2 separate regions of the Homo sapiens genome follow, and region 1 is linked to region 2. The links are contacts of gene promoters, found by promoter capture Hi-C in human tissues and cell types (Jung and others, 2019). All regions are on one chromosome and are shown on one strand. The core of a region is centred on a gene start or on the middle of the fragment in contact, and the rest is flanking DNA. Distances in the headings are between cores, read along the strand shown. Region 1 holds the start of OTOP1 (otopetrin 1). Region 2 has its middle 44 kb from the start of OTOP1.

Region 1 (7,263 bases), core at 2,345-4,844, 42 kb after region 2:
ATGCTCGGAGTCAACCTGAAAGGAGGCAGAGAGAGAGGAAGAACAAAAAAACATGGATGGATGGATGGACGGACAGATGGATGGATGGATGGATGGATGGATGGATGGATGATGAATAAGTGAATGATGATAGAAGCTCTGGGGAAGAGGATGATGGTTCTAGGAAGTTAACTGCACTTCAACATAAGGAAGAGCATTTCTTGGATAAGCACAGACTGAGTAGAAAAAAAGAAGAAGGAGGAGCAGAAGGAGAAGGAGAAGGAGGAACATTCTAAATGCACCAGGCCGGGCGTGGTGGCCCATGCCTGTAATCTCAGCACTTTGGGAGGCAAAGGCAGGCAGATAACCTGAGCTCAGGAGTTTGAGACCAACCTGGCCAACATGGTGAAACACTGTCTCTACTAAAAAATACAAAAATTAGCTGGGTGTGGTGGCATGTGCACCTGTAGTCCCAGCTACTCAGGAGGCTGAGGCAGGAGAATCACTTGAACCCAGGAAGTGGAGGTCGCAGTGACCCATGACTCCAGCCTTGGCAACAGAGTGAGATTCCATCTCAAAAACAAAAACAAAAACAAAAACAGCAGGGGAGAGAGGAAGAGAGGAAGGAAGAGAAAGAGAGGAGAGAGAGAGGGAAGAGGGACAGTGGAGAGAAGGATGGAGGAAGGAAGAGAGGAAGGAAAGATGAAGGAGGAGAAGAGAGAAAGAAAATGAGGAAAAAAATAAGGAAAGGGAGGCCAGGCATGGTGGCTCACACCTGTAATCCCAGCACTTTGGGAGGCTGAGGCAGGCAGATCACGAGGTCAGGAGTTTGAGACCAGTCTGGCCAACATGATGAAACCCCGTCTCTACTAAAGATACAAAAAATAGCTGGGCATAGTTGCAGGCGCCTATAATCCCAGCTACTTGGGAGGCTGAGGCAGGAGAATCGTTTGAACCCGGGAGGTGGAGGTTGCAGTGAGCCGAGATCGCACCATTGCACTCCAGCCTGGGCGACAGGGCAAGACTCCATCTCAAAAAAAAAAAATAAAGAAGGAAAGGCAGAGAGGAGGGAAGGCGAGGGAATAGGGAGGGAGGGAGGAGGAAGAAAGGAAAGGAGAAGGAGGGAAGGAAGAAGGGAGAAAAAAGGATGGAGGAGAGAAAGAAGGAACAAAAAAGGGGCTTTGACTATAGGAAAACACAGGTAAAGGCTCATGTGTATAATACTTTTTAGCCTGTGTAAGTCAATATCCTAAAATAACACTTTGTGCCTTGTTTTAAATAGCACCAGATTCACTGTCATTCACAGAGTCACAAAACCATTAACTTCCCTAAAACAACCATTTTCAGAACAGGAATTTGGGCCACGCTGCAATGGTGTCAAATTTCCCCAAAAGCAAGATGAACTAGATCCAGTCCCTGAGCCTAAGAAGTCTAAAATCTCTTCTGGATGGTAAGGCTAATATCCAACAGTCATAATACAAGGCAGAAACGGACAAGGACCAAAAGAGCTTTACAGAAAGGGGGCCATGGTGGCCCATAGAAGTGAGGAGTAATTCCTGCCAGGCATTTGTGAAGAAGGTGGCATCTGGCCAGGACCTTTGAAAGAAATGTGGAAAGGAGGCCTAGTGTGTGCTGGGCAGCCACCTCATCAGTCACTGGATCTTATCCAGTTTGAGATCCCCATTCTACAGATGCTGAAACCAGGGTTCAGGGTAAGGAAGGCAATCAGGTAACTTGCCCAAGGTCATGCATGCAAGGAACACGGAAGCCCCACTCTAATGGAGATTTAAATTCAGGTCTAATATGAGAGTCCAAGTGGCAATGTGTGATGTGCCTGGACCACGTGGTGTGAAATGCACTTGGCCTCTCCTGGGAAGGTTACTCAGACAGAAGCTTTCTTCACAAGCATGCTCCCCATGGCCTCCTCCCTTTCACCTGCACCATGTCTGTCTCCCATTCAAGACTGGCAGCCCCAGCCAGGCACAGTGGTTCATGCCTGTGATCCCAGCATTTTGGGAGGCCAAGGCAGGAGGATCCCTGGAGGCCAGGAGTTTGAGAAAAGGAGACAACACAACGAGGCCCTATCTGTACAAAATATAACAAAACTTAGCTGGGCAAGGCCATGTGTGTCTATAGTTCCAGCTATTCAGGAGGCTGAAGTGGGAGGATTGCTTGAGCCCAGGAGGAAGAGGCTGTAGTGAGCTGTGATTGTGCCACTGCACTCCAGCCTGGGAGATAGAGCAACATTGTCTCAAAAAAAAAAAAAAAAATGTGGCAGCCCCTTGAGGAAGAAAGAGCTCCTATCTTGACAATTTCAGCCAATGCCTGTGAGTACCAGCAGGAGCCTCTATCCCTCTTTGCCCCACCCTGCATCCACGCATTCATTATTTCATTCATACCCCCTCATTTTCTCAACACCCACTTCGTGCCAGGCCCTGAGGTGGCTCTAGGACCGAGAGACAGGGATCACAGAGCTCCCCAGTGGAGTGGAGGGTACAGACATGTTGACAAGAACACTGGAGCCCAGTGCGGGCTGGGGGCATGTGGTCAGACCTGCAAAGCCGGGAGGAGAAGGGGGTCGGAGAAGCTTCGCGGGGAGAATGGGGTGAGGCCTGAGCCCTGTCTCGGAAAGCAGAGGGGCAGGTGGGAAAGTGGAAAAGACATTCCTGGAGGAGAGAACCGAAGGTGCCGAATGTGCAGAGGCAGAGGTCCTGCGATGGGCGAGAAAGTTCGCGAGAATGACCCCAGCACAGGATGAGAACAAAGGAGGGGATCAAAGGAAACGGGCCCTCGGGGGCCGAGTGCTAGAAGGCTCTGAGTGTCAGGAGAGGGAGCGTGGCCTCCATCATGGGGTCAGTAGGGCCACTGCATGGCTTTAAGTCAGGGAAGGACAAGAGAGGTTTCTGTAACTGTGGCTGTAATGATGGAAGCGTCTGGAGGCGGAGAGGAGGCTCCTGCGGCGACCCAAGCTTCAGAGAGAGAGAGAGGAAAGGAAGGGCAGACAGGAAAGCTAGGAAAGATGCACAGAGAGACCAAGGCAGAAAAGGCTGAAGGGAAGACGGCAGCGGTAGGAAGGGCGCAGAGCAGCCTCAGGATGCAGCCAGCGGGCGAGGAGGCGGAGACCCGCTCGCCCGGCGCCTGGACTCACCGCGCAGCCAGCCGGCACCCGCGTGCGTGTCCTTGAGGCGGAAGAGGCGGCGGTGCGCGGAGCTGCGGCCCACGTACCACAGCATCCACAGCAGCTGCAGCAGCATGAGCGCCGTCAGGAAGCACAGCAGGTCGCTCTTGCTCACGCCCGCGGCGTGCACGGCCCAGGCCAGCAGCAGCAGCAGCCCCGCCACGAACACGATCAGCCCATACTGGCTGCTCAGCATCTCGGCCAGTTTCTGTGGGACGCTGGCGCGCACACCGCCCCGCCGGGGGGCCGGGGATTCCGGGGACCTCGGGGCCGAGGACGAGGGAGGCGAGCAGGCCGCTGGCCCCGACGACCCTGCGACCGAGGCGCTTGCAGCTGCCCGGGGCGAGGCGGGCGACCCCAGGCCCTCGAGCATCTTCGAGACACCCGCGCCAAGTCTGGTCCCGGGGGTGGCTGCCGTCGGGCCCCGCCTGCGCTCCTGGCTCCTGTCCTTGCCCCGACGCCTCTGCCAACCAGCACCTCCCTTTTCAACTCCCTTCCGATTCCTACCCCACGCCCCTGCCAACCTGCCCCCTCTCCTGTCACCTCCCGACGCCCGCCCTCCCCTCTTCTGCCCCTTCGTCCTCCGTCAAGGTACCACCCTGTCCACTTACCCAGCGCCCCACCCTGCTGACCTGGGATTCTACGAGCTCCCTTGCCCGCTGCCCCTCACTGGGCAACGCCCGGGGCAGCCATCTGCCCCCTCCGGGACCCACGCGGACAGCTCCCCGCTCCTGATCCCTGGGACACTGGCCAGCCCTGCCGCGACACTAGCGCGTCCTCCCGCACCTCCGCCCGCGCGCCCGGCCCCCGCCCGCCGTCTGCAGCCCTCACCCCTGAGCCGACGCCCGCCCACCCAGCCCCTGTCCGGGCGCCCCGGAAACGCTGGGTGACAAGAAGTGCCTGCCGGGGTCCCGGGGTTGCGGGACTGGGGAGAGGGGGTCTCCCGGAGCCAGCCCGAGGGGGGTGTGCGCGGGGGGCGTGGCTGCTGCCAAGCGGGGCGTCCGGGGCTCCACAGGGGCTTGCGATGCTCCGGGCCTTCCCCGAGGGTCTCCGTTGGGGAACCCAGAGGTCCAGGGGATCCTGCCTGCGTCCGTGTCCGAGCGTCCGACGGTCTGTACTCGTCCCTGCGTATTTCTGTATTGTCTTCTCTGTGCGGGTCACTCTGTGTCTGGCCGTCTGTTATCGGGTGTGTCTGGTTAGGGGTGGAGGAGCGCCCGTCACTGGCTCTCTGAATTGGGGGAGGGGCCGCCTTCTGTGGGTTTTTCTGTTTGTCCGTCTGGTGTGCCTGTGTGTCGGCTGCGAGATGCCCAGGCGCAGAATAAGACCTGAGCCACTTTCTAAGAAAAGAGACCATCCCGCACCCTCCCCCAAAGGAGCGGCAGCCGTTCTGGACCCAGAGGAGCTGGAATGAGGGACGCCCCGGGGTCTGCCCTGTTGCTACCGGCGCCCAAGCGTCTTCACTAGCCCCTTCCAAAGCCCCGGTGCCCGCCTGGCACCCGCCTGCTCCCGGAAGGGGACTGAGTCTGCCAGGGAGCCCCGCTCGGGTGCCGCTAAGTGGAGGTCTGGGAAGTTTCAGCTGAAGAGCGTTCTACGGGTCTGGCGTGGCTGACAGGAGGCGCCGGACCCCAGCCCCCCAGCCGCAGGTTGGAGAGGGGAGTTGGGAGCGAGCCTGGGGCAAGCCCACATCCCACCGTGCAGCAGCCCGGGGCTGGGCCCGGAAGACACCCTCTCGCTCTTGGTTTAAGGTTCTTGCCGTCTTGAAATTCTTAATTTTTGAACAAGAGGGCCCATGTTTTTGTTTTGCGCTAAGCGCAGCAAATTGCAATAGCAGGTCCTGACTAGTAAAGGAGGGGTGGGGAGTCCTGGGCTAGCAAGGAGTCAACCTGGGGGACCTTACCTTGCCACCATCATTCTTCCAATTCACGCATTCATGCATTTGATCAACACATATGTATGTGTTGACCTATGAATCATTTGCTGCTCTCTGTTCTAGCAGCTGGGTTTTCAGCTATGAAAGGCTCTGCTCAGGTGGAGCTGATGTTCAGGTAGAGAAACAGCAATAAACAAACAGCTAATGAGCCCTCACTGGGAAGCTGGGGATCATGACCTGTGAGACTTAGCCCTCAACTTCTAAGAGCTTGGGAGTGGGGACAGAGTAAGCAGCACAACACCCTTGAGCAGGGCTACAACCAGGGGCCTGGGAGGAGTCCAGGTCTGCAGGAAGGCTGAGAGGTTCAGGGAGGAGGCAACACCTGCACAGTCTTCTTTCTTTCTTTCTTTCTCTTATTTTTATCTTTTAATAAGGACAGGGTCTCCCTGTGTCTCCCAGGCTGGAATGAAGTGGTGTGATTATGGCTCACTACAGCCTCGAATTCTGGGGCTCAAGTGCTCCTCCCGCCTCAGCCTCCCGAATAGCTGGGACTACAGGTGTGTGCTACCACGCCTGGCTCATTTTTTTTAAATTGTTTTTTTGTAGAGACGGGTCTCACTATGTTGCTCAGGTTGATCTCAAACTCCTGGGCTCAAGCCATCCTCCTACCTCAGCCTCCCAAAGCACTGGGATCACAGGCTCCAGCTACCACGTCCAGCCTCCTGCACATTCTTTAGGCTTAGGAGTGGATGGTCAGGCGGAAGGGAGCAGGGGTCTGGAAAGGCAATCCAGAGAGAAGATCCAGCAAACCTACTAGGGACCCTCCACCTTCTCCCCTCCTCTTCCTACCAACAGCCAGAGCAACCTGGGAGCCTGAGCTGAAGATGGAAGAGCCTGTCTGCGTGTCTCCCCAGTGACTAGTGAGGCGGCTTTTCCTCCCGAAGCTGGACCTTACATCAGTGAGAAATAAACTTCCATTGTGCTAAGCCACCAAAGTCTGAAATGTTACAGCAGCTAGCAGTACCTTAACCCGTTGAGTACAAAGATAAATAAAGCTCAGTCACCATCTGAAAATCAAGTGGAATGCCTGTCTCTGGGCTACCTGCACTTTTTTGTTTGTTTGTTTGGTTGGTTGGTTGGTTTTTTGAGATGGAGTCTCACTCTGTTACCCAAGCTGGAGTGCAGTGGCACAATCATCTCAGCTCACTGCAACCTCTGCCTCCTGAGTTCAAGCGATTCTCCTGCCTCAGCCTCCCGAGTAGCTGGGATTACAGGCGCCTGCCACCATGCCCGGCTAATTTCTGTATTTTTAGTAGAGGTGCGGTTTCCCCATGCTGGCTAGCCTGGTCTTAACTCCTGACCTCGTGATCCACCCCTTGGCCTCCCAAAGTGCTGGAATTACCAGCATGAGCCACCCCACCTGGCCTGCATTTTTTTAAGAAGCAATGAAATGAAAGTTTCTGGAGGCTAAAGTCAGCCCCCTTTATTGTAATCTCAAGACAATGTTAAAACTCACTGAGAGCCTGTAATCCCAGCACTTTGGGAGGTCGAGGCAGATCACTTGAGGTCAGGAGTTCGAGACTAGCCTGGCCAACATGGTGAAACACCGTCTCTACTAAAAATACAAAAATTAGCCAGCGTGGTGGTGCGCACCTGTAATCCCAGCTACTTGAGAGGCTGAGGCAGGAGAATCTCTTGAACCCAGGAGGCAGAGGCAGAGGCAGAGGTTGCAGTGAGCCAAGATTGTGCCACTGGACTCCAGCCTGGATGACAGAGTGAGACTCCATCTCAATAAATACATAAAATAAAACTGAGAGATTTACCCACACTGTGTTCTATCTTCCACCGGTGAGATTTTTTTCAAAAGTCTGAGCTACACGGGGCCCCCAGTTTCTTACGACTGACCCCTGCTCCGTGGTGGGCAGATACAAGGGGTCAGAAACGATGCTCTGGTGGCATCCAGGCCTGCTGTTTTCACCACATTTGGCGCATCTTACCCCTGCCCACACTGTGTCCTGAGAGCTGTGTGGCATGGCTCAATCAGTGTAAAAGCTGGAAATGTCCTGACCAGGCAGCTGCCTCCCAGTGATGATTCAGTACCACGCAGATGGATGGGGAGGCATGCTGCCCTCGGACACAGGCTCCCTTCCTTTTTTTCTTTTTTTTTTTTTAATACTTTAAGTTCTAGGGTACATGTGCACAACGTGCAGATTTGTTACATATGTATACATGTGCC
Region 2 (6,700 bases), core at 4,111-6,610:
CCAAGATGGCCAGGCTGGTCTTGAATTCCTGACCTCAGGTGATCCACCCACCTCGGTCTTCCAAGATGCTGGGATTCCAGGCGTGAGCCACCGCACCGGCCAGAAGTGCCTGCCTTTTGAAGGCCGAATAGTCTTCCACTGTATGAAGGAACTGCAGTGTGCTTTTTCATTCATCTGTCCACGAACCCTTGGGTTGCTTCCACATTTTGGCTGTCGTGAATAATGCTGCTATGAATATGGCTGTACAGATATCTCTTCCACTCCTGGCTTCTAATTCTTTTTGGTAGGTACCCACAAGTGCATCTGTGAGATCATCTGATAATTCTGTTTCTACTTTTTCCAGTACACGCCATACTCTTTTCCCTGTTCCTTCACGATTTTGCATTCCCTCCAGTCATATTCGAGCATTCCTACTTCCCTCTAGTTTCACCAATGCTTGTTTGTTTATCATATCCTTCCTAACTTGTGGTATCACATTCTTGGTTTGATTTGTGCTTCCCTATGATTAGTGATTTTGAACATCATTTTCGATGCTTATTGGCCATTGCTATATCTTCTTTAGGGACACGGCTACTCGAGTCTTCTGACCATGGTTAATGGGATGCTTTGGGTTTCTTGTTGTTTAGCTCTAGCTGTTCTTTACATAGGATGGATATCAGCCTCTTTCCAGATAGATGATTTGCAAATACTTTTCCTAATCCGTGGGTTATCTTTTCAATCAATTCACAGTGTTTTTTGATGCACAAAAGTTCCTGTCATTTAGATGTAATCCAAGGAATCTAATTTTCTCTTGTTGCCTATGCTTTTGGTGTCAGATCCCAGAAAGCATTGCCCAATCTGATGTCATGAAAGTGTGACCAATGTTTTCTTTTAGGCATAGTATACTTTTAGCGCTTGGGATTAGGTCTTTGATCCAGTTTGTGTTAATTTTTGCACCTGGTGTGACATAGGGTCCACCTTCATTCTTCTGCATGTGGAAATCAAGTTTCTCCAACACCATTTCTTGAAAAGGCTGCTTTTCCACCAATGAACTTTCTTAGCACTCAGGTTAAAAGTCATTTGAGCATATAGGTGAGAAGTTATTTCTGGGCTCCAAAACAAGCAAACAACGACAGATGACAGATAAGGATACAGCATGGGCCGGGCACGGTTGCTCATGCCTGTAATCCCAGCACTTTGGGAGGCCGAGGCGGGTGGATCACCTGAGGTCAGGAGTTCAAGACCAGCCTGACCAATAGGGTGAAACCCCCATCTCTACTAGAAATACAACATTAGCTGGGCGTGCTGGGGCATGCCTGTAATCCCAGCTGCTCGGGAGGTGCAGGCAGGAGAATCGCTTGAACCCAGGAGGCAGAGGTTGCGGTGAGCCAAGATTGCACCATTACACTCCAGCCTGGGCAACACGAGTGAAACTCCATCTCAAAAAAAAAAAAAAAAAAGAAAGAAAGCAGCACGATTTCAAGAACAGAAAGAGAATAGCTTACAAACCAGCATAATGAGAAAGTTAGGAAGCTTCTTACCAAAGCATCTGGAAATATGCAAGAAATTCTTGTGAACTAAAATTTTCATACTGTGCTATCAAACACTAGAACTCACTTATTCCATCTTTCTGTATTTTGGGACCCAATTATCCACTTCTCTTCCTTCCCCATCCCACCCGTTTTCTTCCTAGTGAAAAGCCTTTTCAAGTATAAAGGAAAACCACCTTTATACTTTCCGCCTTCTTGAGATTCCTTTTGTGTGTAGGTGTGTGATGGAGTCTCTTTCTGTTGCCCAGGTGGGAGTATACAGGCACAATCCGGGCTCAATGCAACTTCCACCTTCCGAGTTCAAGCACTTCTTGGGCCTCAGCCCTCTGAGTAGCTGAGACTACAGGCACCTGTCACCACGCCGGGTTAATTGTTTGTGTTTTCAGGAGAGACGGGGTTTCACCATGTTGGCCAGGTGGGTCTTGAACTCCTGGCCTCAAGTGATCCGTGTGACTCGGCCTCCCAAAGTGCTGGGATTACAGGCCTGAACCACCACACCTGGCCAAGATTTTCTTGTTTGTTCCTACATATAAGTGAGGACATGAAATATTTGTCATTCTGTGCCTGGCTTGTTTCACTTACAATACACACCTGCAATCTCATCCATTTTGTCTGCAGTGGAGAGGATTTTAATCGTTTTTAGGCTGAATAATACTTCATTGTGTGTGTATACCACAGTTTCTTAATTGAAACCAATTTCTAAAAAGCAAATATTTTTAAAATGTCCCGGAATGTGAAACTTCAGGGATACTGTGCCCATTTTATTCTTTTCTATTTCCCATTTTATGTATATGCAAGTGTAAAACAAAGCAGCAATCAATGTGTGTCTAAATGTATAACTTCGACAAACGTAAAATGAAAATGCTAAGTGGTGGCTGGGCGCGGTCTCTCACGCCTGTAATCCCACCACTTTGGGAGGTGGAAGTGGGCAGATCACCTGAGGTCGGGAGTTCAAGACCAGCCTGACCAATATGGAGAAACACTGTCTCTAGTAAAGATACAAAAAAAAAAAAAAAAATTAGCCGGGCGTGGTAGCCCATGCCTGTAATCCCAGCTACTTGGAAGGCTGACACAGGAGAATCGCTTGAATACGGGAGGCAGAGGTTGCAGTGAGCCGAGATCATGCCATTGCACTCCAGCCTGGGCAACAAGAGTGAAACTCTGCCTCAACACACACAAAAAGAAAAAAGAAAAGAAAAAGAAAAAAATAGGAAATGCTAAACGGTAAGAAAAAACAGCATAATAAACGTTTGTGTAGTGTTGATGGACAATGCATTTGAAAATCATATTTGAAGATATATTACTATTAACTTCTGTTCTTACTCATTGGAGCTTGATTCCTCTAAAAATTTCATCATTGGAACCACCTCTGGTGCTTAAAAACAAAAAACAAACAAAAAAAAAACCCACATACTCACACACGTGCAAGGAAATCAGAATTTCATGTAACGAGACCCAGGCCTCATCGTTTGTAAGCTCCGCAGGTGATTTCACTCAAAGCCAAGATTGAGGACGGGTGACGCGGATCTCTACACACAACCTGCCTAAACAGACTCTCTAGAAGCAGTTTATAAAGAAATTCCACGTGAACTCCGGGAGAGGATATGAATTTGATGTACAGTATGTCCTCACTTAACATCTTTGAAAGTCTCTTGGAAACTTGACCTTTCAGCAAAATTCTGTATACTGAAACGTTTTTAGCAGGTGACTTGATTTGATTTACATTTTTCAGACATGTAGCTTCACTATCATGGTTATGGTGGTCCGTGTGTTACTAACATTGCTGAAACCACCATGCCAGAATTACCCTCCCATTTGTGGGTTAAAACACTGTGCCCATCTCTCCCTCCCCAGAGTCCTCTTGGTGGCTACTCTTAGGAGGAACTAACATCGCCTACATTCCCCCATCACACCCAGCACAAGTGCCCTCCCAGCCAGCTTCCCCAGCCTCCCCCACCCAACTCAGTCCCACTCACACCCAGCATGCCAGGGACTCTCCCATCAGGGGAACACCCTGTAACCCCCAAGTTCCTCCAAAGCCTCTTGAGAGGGACCAGAGTGCCCTGCAGGGAGTGGGTCCTGGTGGGTCCGGTGGAGGGAACGTCCTTGCTGGAACTGGCTGGGTCTTAGCCGGGAAGTGGTGACAGGTATCTCTCACATACGCTACGGGAACCCAGCGCAGCCAATGGAGTCCAATCAGCACACCTTGCGCCCACCCATTCGTTTGGTACCTTGAGGCCACTGCCCACCCTCCAGGTACCCCGGTCTCAAGCTTGCCCTGAAGTTCAGGGAAAGGCGCTGGCGCCCCCTGCTGGTTGCGCTCTCCCATAGCAGGGCTCACATTTTTGGAGAAAGAAACCAGCTGTTAGCAGCTTTCACTCTTCACCATGTTAAGCAAAGTGCAGCATTTTATAACTGGATGAAAAGCCAGATATTCTGTCAGCTGACTAGATTGTTCTGTACGCATATCCCTGAGCTATTGTTTGAAGGATATTTTTACTGAGTTGACTTTCTTCATAAGATGATATGACTAATGAAAAGAAAAGGCAATGGAGTTTTTAAAACCGGCATGAGGAACCAAATGCTGCCACTGACTAGCTATGTACATGTGATCCAAAGGTTCCCTCTGTTCAAACAAAATAACAGTGCTTACCTAACCAGGTCATCTGTGAGCTGGGACTTCACAGGCAGGCGTGGAGGGAGATGGATGCGAGAAGGGCTTCGTTAGCTGAGAGGGTCGTGCAACTGGAAGGTAATAGCAAGCATTTTCCAGTTGGAACTTTTGGCCGACATTTGTGGTGGGGAGACAAACAGGTCTAATTTGCCTCCCGCGCATGGGCAGGTAGGAAGATGCTGGTGGGTTTGGTTCGACAGTCTTGTGGAAGGGGTGCTTTTTTAATGCACACTCAGGCACCATGGGAGCCTGTTGTCACCCTGGATATCTGGCTCCGTGCCCGTGCCCTTCCACCCTGCCTCGACAAGAGTCATGGCACCCAAAATAAATGAGTTCAAATCTGAGTTTCACAGGCTCAGGGAAGAACCCAAGCTACCAAATGCACAGGCCCCTCCTGTATACGGTTACAGCAGGTAAGGGAATAACTTACTCAGTGCAAGCTGCTACAATAAAACAGCACAAGCTGAGTGGCTAATCAACAACAGGCATTTATTTCTCACAGGTCTGGAGGCTGGAAGCCCAAGATCAGGGTGCCAGTGCTGGCATGGTCGGGTTCTGGTGAGGGCCCTCTTCCGGGTCACAGACAGCTGTCTTCTCATTGCATCCTCATATGACAGAAAAGAAGTGCACAAGCTCTCTGGCCCCCTCTTACAGGTGCTAATCCCATTCACAAGGGTCCTACCATCATGACCTCATTACCTCCCAAAGACCCCACCTCCAAATACCACCACATTGCCATTAAGCTTCAATATATGAATTTAAGGGGGAAACAAACATCCAGTCCATTGCAGGTTGTCCTGATAATATGTGTGCCCGGGGCATTGTCCCCACAGCAAATAGCGACATTGGAAGGCAAACCAATGTCAGGTTTCCTAATGTGCACAGAGGCGTCCGTGGAAGAGTGAGTCCGGTGATCTTACCAGCTAATTGCATTGAGCTACCCCACCTTGGGGATTTACCTGCCAAGGAGAACAGAACACCACTGGCTTTGACACCCATCTCTCAACAATGATGGATGAATGCTGGAAATTTACCTGCTTGGGTAGCTGTGTCTAAGTTCATCTTCCTTGTATGGACTTTCTTTTTTTCTTGCTCTCAAATACTTGTATTATGAAATATCTCATTTAAAGTTTCTTTAAAATACATTAAAAGTATATTTAAAGAGTACGTTTTAAGAGTGCAGAGAAAACATAATGAATACCTCTTTGCTTAAGAAAAAGTATTTCAGACACAGCATGAAATCAGTTGCTGGTTCCAAGCCCCTCCCCTTCTCACTACGCTGAACTTGGCGTGCATTCTTTCTTCAGGTGTGTTTGTAATCTTACTGCATATGGACATATCCCCCAGCAATATCAGGGATTGTTTTGCTTGTTCCTAGACATCATATTAATGGTATCATACCAATTATATGCCTGCGCTACTTAATGTTTCATTCAACATTGTTTTGGGGGACTATCCATGTTGATACCTGAATTCTCTTGTGTTCATTTTTTCCTTTTGTGAAATAGTCCATCATGGAAATAGTCCCTGGTGTGCCTATCTGCACTCCTAATTGACAGGCATTTAGGCTGTTTTCCATTTTCCTAATTACAAGTGATGCTGAGTGCACATTCCTGAACACAGGTGTGAGGCTGTCTCTGGAGCACATGCCAAGGAACAGAATTCTTAGCTCATAAGGAATGTGTACCTCCAGCCTTAGTCAATATTGCCAATTGCTGTCCAATCTGATTTTATTCATTTACGCTCCCACTAGCAGTATATATGGGTCTTTCTTTCACTTCTTGCCAACTCTTGCCAGTCTAATGAATGGGAAGTAGTAACTCATTATTATTTCAATTTGTATTCCGTGTATTAATCCCTGAGACCTTAACACTTGTGTATTGCACATTCTGGTTCCTCTTTGGCAAATTGCCTTGGCATTAAGATAGTAAATTTTCCTTGCCACCTAGGCTGGTTGAATCAGGATGCTTAATTACTTAGAGGTAAAAAGCACCTGGCTGAAATAGCCATCCCTGAGGCTGCCTGTTGAGGATAAGAGATGCTTCATCCATCTTTAGATCCTTTCTTGGAAACGCTGAGCGCAGCCAGCCATGCAGGCTTTTCCAAGCTCTGATGCTGCCATGTGTCCACAATAGCATCCCCACAACCTGGATCCATCATTCCCAGCATAATGATGGCTCCTTTTCTTCTCCTTGGCAGAGCCCAAAACCCAAAGCTGAGGCCTCAGGGCTGTTCTAATGTGCTTAGAATGGGGGTAAAGGTAATGCCAACCAAAATGAGGAAACCGGTATTCCCACTCAGTCACTGCTGAGTCAGCGTAAATCACTCCAGAGGACAGTTTGTCACTGACCTCAAAGACTCAATTACAAAGATGATCACCATAGCATTGTTTACAGTAGCACCAAAAAAAAGGAACCACCTAAATATCTCTAAATGTCCAACATCACGGTTTGAAAAAATAAGGAATGGTACATCCTTCCATGGAGTGTACTTTAAA

The links. The method cuts DNA at HindIII sites, captures the fragments that hold promoters and counts their contacts. A contact is called where the count stands out against the background at its distance.
Region 1: a contact is called between the fragment with the promoter of OTOP1 here and a fragment that was not itself captured in region 2, in 1 of the 25 tissues and cell types used here (lymphoblastoid cells).

What each region holds. Positions count from the first base shown.
Region 1 is chr4:4,223,335-4,230,597 of GRCh38, forward strand. It overlaps OTOP1 (otopetrin 1), which reads right to left and starts at 3,595. Exons shown (of 6, transcript NM_177998.3): 1 at 3,128-3,595. The coding sequence starts at 3,530. RefSeq lists enhancers at 2,725-3,345, 3,967-4,587. The HindIII fragment of the contact is 12,453 bases long and covers 2,758-7,263 here.
Region 2 is chr4:4,179,226-4,185,925 of GRCh38, forward strand. No RefSeq gene overlaps it. Among named protein-coding and RNA genes, the nearest start is that of OTOP1, 44 kb to the right of the region's middle. The HindIII fragment of the contact is 5,409 bases long and covers 2,657-6,700 here.